Regions from separate parts of the Homo sapiens genome. Here all the other regions are linked to region 2. The links are contacts of gene promoters, found by promoter capture Hi-C in blood cells and fetal thymus (Javierre and others, 2016). All regions are on one chromosome and are shown on one strand. The core of a region is centred on a gene start or on the middle of the fragment in contact, and the rest is flanking DNA. Distances in the headings are between cores, read along the strand shown.

Region 1 (3,015 bases), core at 406-2,905, 2.0 Mb before region 2:
TTCATTCTCCAAAGTGGCAGCCCAAGCTGTACCTGGGCCCCTTTGAGCCGTAGCTGGAGCTGGAGTGACCAGGGCGTGGGGAGCCCTGTCTTGAGCCTATGCAGGGAAGCAGGGCCCTGGGCCTGGTCCATGAAATCATTCTTTCCTCCCAGGCCTCTGGGCCTGTGATGGGAGGGGTTTCAGCAAAGGTTTCTGAAATGCCTTTGGGGACTTTTCTCCATTATCTTGGATATTAGCAGTTGGCTTTTGGTTATGCAAATATCTCTAGCAAGTGGATGCCTCACAGCCTGCTTGAATTCCTCTCCTGAAAAAGCTTTTTCTTTCTCTGCCATATGGCCAGGCTGTAAATTTTCCAAATTTTTACACTCTGCTTTCCTTTTTAATATAAGTTCCAATTCGAAGTCATTTCTTTGCTCCCACATCTGAGCACATGCTATTAGAAGCAGCCAGCCCAAATCTTGAACACTTTGCTGCTTAGAAATTTTTTCCACCAGATACCCCAGGTTGCCACTCTTTAGTTCAAACTTCCACAGATCCCTAGGGCATGGACAGAATGCAGCCAAGTTCTTTGCTAAGGCATAATATGTGTCACCTTTGCTCCAGTTCCCACTAAGTTCCTCATTACCATCGAAGACCTTGGCAGCCTGGACTTCATTATCCATATCACTATCAGAATTTTAGTTGCAACTTTTAAACAGTCTCTAAGAAGTTCCAAATTTTCCCTCATCTTTATGTCTTCTGAGCCTTCCAAACTCTTCCAACCTCTACCCATTATCTTGTTCCAAAGTCAGTTCCACATTTTCAGGTATCTTTATAACAAAACCCCACTCCTGGTACCAATTTTCTGTAATAGATCATTCTTGCATTGCTATAAAGAAATACCCGAGACTGGGTAACTTATAAAGAAAAGAGGTTTAATCTGCTCACAGCTCTGCAGGCTTTATAGGAAACATGGTGCTGACATCTGCTTGGCTTCTGGGGCAGCCTCAGGAAGCTTATAATCATGGAGGAAGGCGAAGGGGAAACAGGCATGTCACACGGTGAAAGCAGGAGCAAGACAGCGAGAGTATGGGACAGGTGCCACACACTTTTAAGTGGCCAGCTCTCATGTGAACTCAGAGCAAGAGCTCACTTATCACCAAGGGTATGGCCCAAGCCATTCATGAGGGATCTACCCCCACGATCTAAACACCTCCCACCAGGCCGATCTCCAACACTGGCTTTTATAACTCAACATGAGATTTGAGCAGGGACAAATATCCAAACTCTATTATGTATTTACGCTCAGGAGTACAAAGTTTCCATAAGCACCACCATTGCCTATTCCTTAACACAATATGTTAAGTTATAAATAAACAATATGGTTTGCCACTTAACAAGAAGTAGAAAGTTCAGTAGCACATCCTTATCTCCAATGCTGCCAGACATGTAACTAAGTGAGGTAGTTATTAGCTTCCTTTTCATAAGAAAATTCAATGCTTTTATAAAGTTTTTCAGTGCCTCTAGAAAAGCGGAAGCCTTTACAAAGGAGATTTGCTTTATGTTAATTATGCAAAATCAAGGGTTATTAACAAAAGACCATGTGAATGAGAGAAGCTGAGGAATGTAACTTCATCTTACTCTAATACTCAAATGGCAGATAATTATTTCTGGACAGAGTATGGAGCCACAGAAATAAAATACTCTAACCTTGAAAATTCAGCTACTCAGGAGGCTGAGGCTGGACAATCACTTGAACCTAGGAGGCGGAGGTTTCAGTGAGCCAACATCGCGCCACTTCACTCCAGTGTGGGTTACAGAATGAGACTCCATCTCAAAAAAACAAACAACAACAACAACAATTCCTGCTCCCTTTTTGTATTATGGATAGACATATCAACTTTATGGGTGACAATTACATTGGAAAGGACAGTGAATGCGATAAGTAACACCATCAAATCCAAAAGGTCTTGATAAGCTACAACAATGGGCCAATTGTAACAGACGAAATGTGACAGATATAAGATCTTCCTCTTTTATCAAAAAATGAATTGCAAAAGTACAGAATACAGGGAAAGTTTAACAATAACATGAAATGACATAGTACTTTTCTGAAAGAAAGATTAACATGATGTCACTGTCAAAAAAATGATGCTTAGAGCATGGACTGCATCATTAGAGTAACGGTATCATTTCCACTCAGAAGGGCATGCTTTTCTAGGAGGCATATTGGAATATCTGGGAAGTGTGTACCTGAAATTGAGGAAAGCATAGTCAATATTATTATGTAATTTTAAAATTAAAAATACAGAAAAAAAGAGACAAAATGAAGCTTTACAAAATCTTCCAGGCTGGGCATCTAGGAAATAAGCAGTGATTTTTTAGTGGGTTAGGGATGGTCAGGCTTGGGAGCATGACATTTTCGTGTATAGCCAAGGGAAGTAGTTATTGAGTAATTCAGTTTTTGAGTAATTCAGCTGGAAGAAGGAGAAAAGAGTCAACTGTACTCTCATTCGTAAGACCCACCGTATATCCTCTGGTTCTGCTTTACATTTAATTCACTTGTTTCCAAATGTTTATTGAGCATCAGCTATGTGATACGTACTCAGCGCACTGAGGATAAAGCAGAGAACAAGACAGCCATACAAGACTATCAGCTGATGTCTCCCAGCTTCACAAAGCACACTTCCCAGCTCCATCTTGCTTGATTTCCTGAGCCAGTCCTGAGGCAAAAACCTTAATATTCTTATCTGGTGAAACATACATTGAGCCAACTTCCCAGATCTAGTGGCCAAGGGATAAGTTTCCTGATTCCAAATTGTGTCACCATGAAGTTTCACTGCTAGCAATCAGGACCCTGGACAGGCTAACCATCATCCTAGCAAATTAATCAAACCTGAGAAGGGGGTGTGGGAACCCTGATTTATAGCTGGTCAGTCAGAAGTGTAGGTGACAGTCAACCTAAAGTCTTGTGGAAATGAACCCTTAACTTGTGGGATTTGACTATAAGTTGAGGTAGACAGTGTCAGAATTAAG
Region 2 (2,984 bases), core at 315-2,814:
CCATTACCATTTCTTTTTTTTTTTTTTTTGGACACGGAGTCTTGCTCCGTGGCCCAGGCTGGAGTGCAGACTGCAGTGCCAGATCTCGGCTCACTGCAACTTCCGCCTCCCGGGTTCAAGCCATTCTCATGCCTCAGCCTCCTGAGCAGCTGGGATTACAGGCGTTCCCGGCTAATTTTTAGTATTTTTAGTAGAGGCGGGGTTTCACCATGTTAGCCAGGCTGGTCTAGAACTCCTAACCTCACGTGATCCGCCTGCCTCGGCTTCCCAAAGTGCTGGGATTACAGGCGTAAGCCACCGCGCTGGGCCCCTTTCTTCCCATTTCTACAAATGAAGTAGTATTATTCCCTTTGGCTTTTCCTAACAAGTCATTTGACATTTAAACGCGGGACTAGTGGCAACGGAGTTCATGATTATCGTTTCTTCTGCCTCCCCACTGATGAGAGAAAGGCCACAAGTCCTGTCAGGCTCTCACTTCCAGAAAGGCCACCTCTGTAGACCACGCACCATCAACTGGCTTCACAGCCAGGCAGCTTTGCGGGACCATCAGCCCCAGCTCGACTGCAGCCTCCCCGCCCCTCCGGGACCTAGACGTTCGGGCCCAGCTCAGCGCGTTCTGCGGCCCTGCTGTCCCAGAGACCACCGCCTCCAAGTACCTCGCGGCCACAACTTTCCCAGGACCTCCCACCCGCGGGAATCCTGAGGCCCTGACGTCAGCGAGACCCCTTCCGGCATCCAGAGGCCAGGACGTCCCCGTGACCTCCCCCAAAATGCTCGCAGCCCCGCCGTCCCCGGGACCCCCCGGGACACCCAGCGGCCCCGCTGTCTCCGGGACCCCCCCGGGCACCCTGCAGCTACGTCGTCCCTGGGACCCCTCCGGGCATCCCGCCGCCATGACGCCCTGGGACCCCGCGCGTCTACATCGCCGCGAGCCTCCGCCGCGGAGTAGACGACTTTCCGGAGGAATCGCCAGGCGCGAGGCCGGGCCTGCCCGGCCCTTCGCTCCGGAGTGTCCTCGCGGCAACGCCACTCCACGACATCCCTAGGCCGGCGACACGCCGCTCTCAAGCCTGTGGATGACCCAGCGCCAGAAAACCGGGTGGCCGTCATGAAGCCCTAGCCCAGCTCCGCAGCCCCTCACCTTATAGACGGCCACACAGGCTGAGGTGCAGCCCAGGTGAACTCCGATGGCCGCCATGAGGCAGCAGGGACGGCAGCGGCAGGAATGAGGGGGTCCCCCAACAGCAACAGCTACCGGCCGCCCAACGGCCCCATCAGGCACCGCGGAGCTTCACGTTCCCGCCAGCCCCCTGCGTCCGGTCGGCCGCTACAGCCTCCCGCGTCGCCGCCAATCAGCGTGAAGGTTCCGCCTTTCTTCACGCGCAGTCCGCGAGTAGCTTCAGCGCGTCTCTGCGCTCCGCGGAAACTGCACAGTGCGCACGCGCAACCGGGGAGGGACGGGAAAAGGCTCCTACACTCCGCCCCCTTCCTATCCCTTCCTTGAGAGCCAATGGAAACTCTGTGTTCAGTTGCGTCATTTGTCCTGGCAACTACTGGCAGATTCTTTCCAACCTCGAATTCTGCTCAGCTCGCTTTGGCAGCTTGGTGGGCGGTGGGCGCGGGTGGCGGAGGCGATTGAAGCTGCTGGCCCAGCATGTGGTGCGCGAGCCCAGTTGCTGTGGTGGCCTTTTGCGCCGGGCTTTTGGTCTCTCACCCGGTGCTGACGCAGGGCCAGGAGGCCGGGGGGCGGCCAGGGGCCGACTGTGAAGGTGAGCGGTGTGACAACTGCTTGCATGGCGGCGGCCCCGCGCTGCGGCGCAGCAGCTGTCGGCTTTGGCTTCTCCTGGCCCTGGCTATAAATAACATTCCGCCCAGGAAATGCAGGCCCTGTCCCTCGTTTTAGATCGCCCAAGCCCAGCTCGAGTAAAAAGCTCAAGCCGGGCCTGGTGGTAACGTGAGGCCACGTTGTGGTTTTGCTGTGAATATTAAACTTCAGCAGTAAAAGCTGGTGGGTTTGTATTTGGATTAGAGTTTGTGCAAAGAATGCTAGATTCAGATGATACTGGCGCCAGATTGATTCTGCTGCTTCCAACCAGCAAGATTTGCCTCCCCTTGCACAGAAGACGTCTTTCAAGTCCAAGCTAGTTGGTGACTCCCCAAAGGAAAACAAAACATGGCATTGAGTTGAGTAGCTTAAATCAGAGGACATAGCTAATATTTGTTAGGACTCTGTAGGTGAAAATTGCTTTGCAAAGGAGTACACTGACTCCTTGGGAAAGAGAGGAATACAAAAGAGTGGTTCCTTTTTGTTCACGGTATCTCAGCTGTGAACTCGCAGTCAGAATACGTGAGTCTGTATCCCACCAAGTCCCCTAGCTCTGAGACTTTGGTTTTTGCAAAATCAGCGTACTTCACTTTAGAGATCTGTTAGCAAAGGCAAAGAAGGTAAGTGGCTATGCTAGCCCCTTCCTTCTGGACTCCTGTAGCGCTCACTCCATGTTTTACTGAAAATAATTAGTTTAAATGTATATGCCCTCAGCTGGAAAATATATCCCTAGTGAACAGGAAATTGTAGGTTCATCATATATGTTGAGTGAATGGATGGGTATAGTCGTACTAAAGTTGTGTTTTTGTTTGTTTTGTTGTTTTGTTTTTTGTTTTTGTTTTTGTTTTGAGACAGTCTCACTGTGTTGCCCAGGCCGGAGTACAGTGGCACAATCTTGGCTCACTGCAGCCTCCATCATCGGGTTCCAGCGATTCTCCTGCCTCAGCCTCCCAAGTAGCTGGTACTAAAGGCACCACCACCACGCCTGACTAATTTTTATATTTTTAATAGAGATGCAGTTTCACCATGTTGGCCAGACTGGTCTTGAACTCCTGGCCTCAGGTGATCGGCCCGCCTCAGCCTCCCAAAGTGCTGGGATTACAGGCGTGAGCCACAGCGCCCAGTCCTTAAAGTGTTAATAATTGGAGCCTGGCTTTCT
Region 3 (3,053 bases), core at 97-2,596, 1.1 Mb after region 2:
CAGACTCTCTGATAAAATATTCTCGGGTCGGGATCATCTGAGCTAGTTTGGGTGGGCTGTTGCTTGTGGAGTCAGGAAACCTCTTAGCAAGGTCTGCGCTCCATCTAGAGTGTTCCTTTAGACTCAAATAGATGCCCTAAGATTCAGTCCTGCTAAGTGTGCCCCCAAAACCCGTTTAAAATGTAGGTCTGATTATGATTCAGCTGTGGTGAGGCCAGCAGATGAGGAGAGGACAGACATTGAAAAGATTGTCACTCAGTTCCTGGGAGAAGGGGCCACACCATGCCACGCAGGGCCATGTGGGAGGCATTGGGGAGCCGGGAAACAATTGGGCAAGAGCATTTTTTGTGGTTTCTTTGGGGAGGAACGGGCAAGGCTGGGAGAGCAGGCTTGGGATTGGCTAGTTTAAATAATTTCAGCGGGCTCTGCAGCATGGGGGCTGCCCCCTAGTTGTCTGGTACGTGTCCCTAGGGTGGTGAGGGCAGGGAAATAGTGGCCCTGGGTGTGAGAGCCGAGAGGTGGTGGGAGGGGTGGACCCTGGATCCATGGTGACATGTGGAAGTCTTGGGGTCTGGAAATTGGCTAACCCTGGCACCAGCAGTCCCTCCAGGCCCAGCAAGGTCACAGACATCCAAGCATCATAAAGCCATGGTCAATACACAGCCAGACTCGGAACTGTCCATGCAGACCCTCTGAATCCGAGACATAGCCTTCATTTATTTCCCTGGTTACCCAGAGACCTGGAATGTTCTTTGTGAACCCTGGAAGCACTCCCTGCTCCATGCTGGTAGTTAAGGAAATGCAACATTGCCACCTACTGCTGAGGCTCTCCTGAAAATCAGAAAAAGAAGCCACTTTTTTTTTTTTTCTTTTTTTTTGAGACAGATCTGCCTGCCTCGGCCTCCCAAAGTGCTGGGATTACAGGCATGCCCGGCCAAAAACTATGCCCGGCCAAAAACTATGCCCAGCCAAAAACTGGATTAAAAAAAAAAAAGAAGAAGAGGCTGGCCTGTAACCTGAGTACTTTGGGAGGTCAGGGTAGGATAATTACTTGAGCTCAGGAGTTCAAGACCAGCCTGGGCAACATAGTGAGACCCCATCTCGACAGAAAATAAAAAATTAGTCAGCATGGTGGCTTATATCTGTAGTCCCAGCTATCTGGGAGGCTTAGACAGACAGGTCACTTGATCCCAGGAGGTCGAGGCTGCAGTGAACTGTGGTTGCACACTGCACTCCAGCCTGAGTGACAGAGCAAGACCCCATCTCAAAAAGAAAAAAAAGAAAAAAAAATTTTGACTTTGAATCCAAACCCTCAGCCCTCCCCATCTTCCCAGGAGGCTCTTGTCCCTGGTGCCACCGGTGTGCACCATGCCTCTCTGGGCGTGCGGGTGGAGAGGTCTGAGCTCTGTTTCTCTGCAGGCGTTTTTGACTCAGCCGTTCCCTGGCAGGGAGGGAAAGCTCAGGATGAGCTCCATACCCTCCCCTAACAGAACAATGATATGACAGGCCCGGAGCTCACGGGGTTTTCCAGGCTGTCGTCTTGGTGATAAAAGTTAACAGGAAACTGCTTTCCACTTCCGTCGAGAGGAGGTGATTTTTTTTCTCTTCATCTCAGAATATGCGTGTTATTTCCTGTACCTTCTCTGCCCCTTTTATGGCTAGACAACAGAGAGCTTGGTGGAAATGAAGGCAGTCACAGAGATGTAGAATTTGCCACCTCAATTCAGTTTTCCATCATATGAGAGTGGAAACGAAAAGGGAAGCGTTATATTTTCTTAATATACTATTCAGGAGAAAATTGGGGTGGAAGAGGCAGGATGTCTTTACTCTTTACTTTTTAAGAACTAAAGCAAATGAGATTCTTTTAAGAAACATATGGCATTACTTTGAAAATTAAGTTATTTCAGACCTTATATGAATTTAGACTCAAAATCATCATTAGAGCACAAAGGCCACCGTCAACTTCAGGAGGCTTCTGTTAATATTCTGGTGTTAGGATTGCTTTCTCTCTTCCTTGCCTCCCCTTTCTCTCCCTTTCCTCGCTTTTCCTTCTTTTCCTTCCTTTAGTTTCTTTTATTATTCTGCCTACCCTTTGCCAGAGGCCCTTTGCAAAGGATGTAGATTTATTTATTTATTTTTGAGACGGAGTTTCGCTTTTGTTGCCCAGGCTGGAGTGCAATGGCATGATCTCAGCTGACTGCAACCTCCGCCTCCCAGGTTCAAGCGATTCTCCTGCCTCAGCCTCCCAAGTAGCTGGGATTACGGGTGTCCGCCACCACGCCTGGCTAATTTTTTGTATTTTTAGTAGAGACAGGCTTTCACCATGTTGGCCAGGCTGGTCTCGAACTCCTGACCTCAGTTGATCCACACATCTTGGCCTCCCAAAGTGCTGGGATTACAGGCATGAGCTACGATATAGATTTATTTTTTGAAAATCAAATCATTAAAAAGTCAGGAAACAACAGGTGCCGGAGAGGATGTGGAGAAATAGGAACACTTTTACACTGTTGGTGGGACTGTAAACTAGTTCAACCATTGTGGAAGACAGTGTGGCGATTCCTCAAGGATCTAGAATTAGAAATACCATTTGACCCAGCCATCCCATTACTGGGTATATACCTGAAGGATTATAAATCATGCTGCTATAAAGACACATGCACACGTATGTTTATTGTGGCACTATTCACAACAGCAAAGACTTGGAACCAACCCAAATGTCCATCAGTGGTAGACTGGATTAAGAAAATGTGGCACATATACACCATGGAATACTATGCGGCCACAAAAAAGGATGAGTTCATGTGCTTTGTAGGGACATGGATGAAGCTGGAAACCATCATTCTGAGCAAACTGTCACAAGGACAGAAAACCAAACACCACATGTTCTTACTCATAGGTGGCAATTGAACACTGAGAACACTTGGACACAGGGTGGGGAACATCACATACTGGGGCCTGTCGTGGGGTGGGGGGTAGGGGGAGGGATAGCATTAGGAGACATACCTAATGTAAATGACGAGTTAACAGGTGCAGCACACCAACATGGCATATGT

Evidence for each region. The method cuts DNA at HindIII sites, captures the fragments that hold promoters and counts their contacts. A CHiCAGO score of 5 or more calls a contact.
Region 1: a fragment that was not itself captured here is called in contact with the fragment with the promoter of CDNF in region 2 in 1 of 17 cell types (neutrophils); the score reaches 5.6 in neutrophils.
Region 3: a contact is called between a fragment that was not itself captured here and the fragment with the promoter of CDNF in region 2, in 1 of 17 cell types (naive CD8 T cells). The highest score is 6.4, in naive CD8 T cells.

The regions. Positions count from the first base shown.
Region 1 is chr10:16,820,045-16,823,059 of GRCh38, reverse strand. LOC105376435 (a long non-coding RNA gene) reads right to left here. Exons shown (of 3, transcript XR_930708.3): 3 at 1,803-2,232. Among named protein-coding and RNA genes, the nearest start is that of RSU1, 4.1 kb to the right of the region's middle. RefSeq lists a silencer at 44-195. The HindIII fragment of the contact is 1,317 bases long and covers 997-2,313 here.
Region 2 is chr10:14,836,617-14,839,600 of GRCh38, reverse strand. It overlaps CDNF (cerebral dopamine neurotrophic factor), which reads left to right and starts at 1,564. Exons shown (of 4, transcript NM_001029954.3): 1 at 1,564-1,769. The coding sequence starts at 1,655. It overlaps HSPA14 (heat shock protein family A (Hsp70) member 14), which reads right to left and starts at 1,295. Exons shown (of 14, transcript NM_016299.4): 1 at 1,142-1,295. The coding sequence starts at 1,198. MSANTD7 (Myb/SANT DNA binding domain containing 7) reads right to left here and starts at 1,295. Exons shown (of 5, transcript NM_001378785.1): 1 at 1,142-1,295. RefSeq lists an enhancer at 1,012-1,251 and a silencer at 1,402-1,511. The HindIII fragment of the contact is 8,843 bases long and covers 1-2,984 here.
Region 3 is chr10:13,785,693-13,788,745 of GRCh38, reverse strand. The region is part of intron 5 of FRMD4A (FERM domain containing 4A); the gene reads left to right. Among named protein-coding and RNA genes, the nearest start is that of PRPF18, 200 kb to the right of the region's middle. RefSeq lists enhancers at 1-437, 1,253-1,302. The HindIII fragment of the contact is 4,505 bases long and covers 1-3,053 here.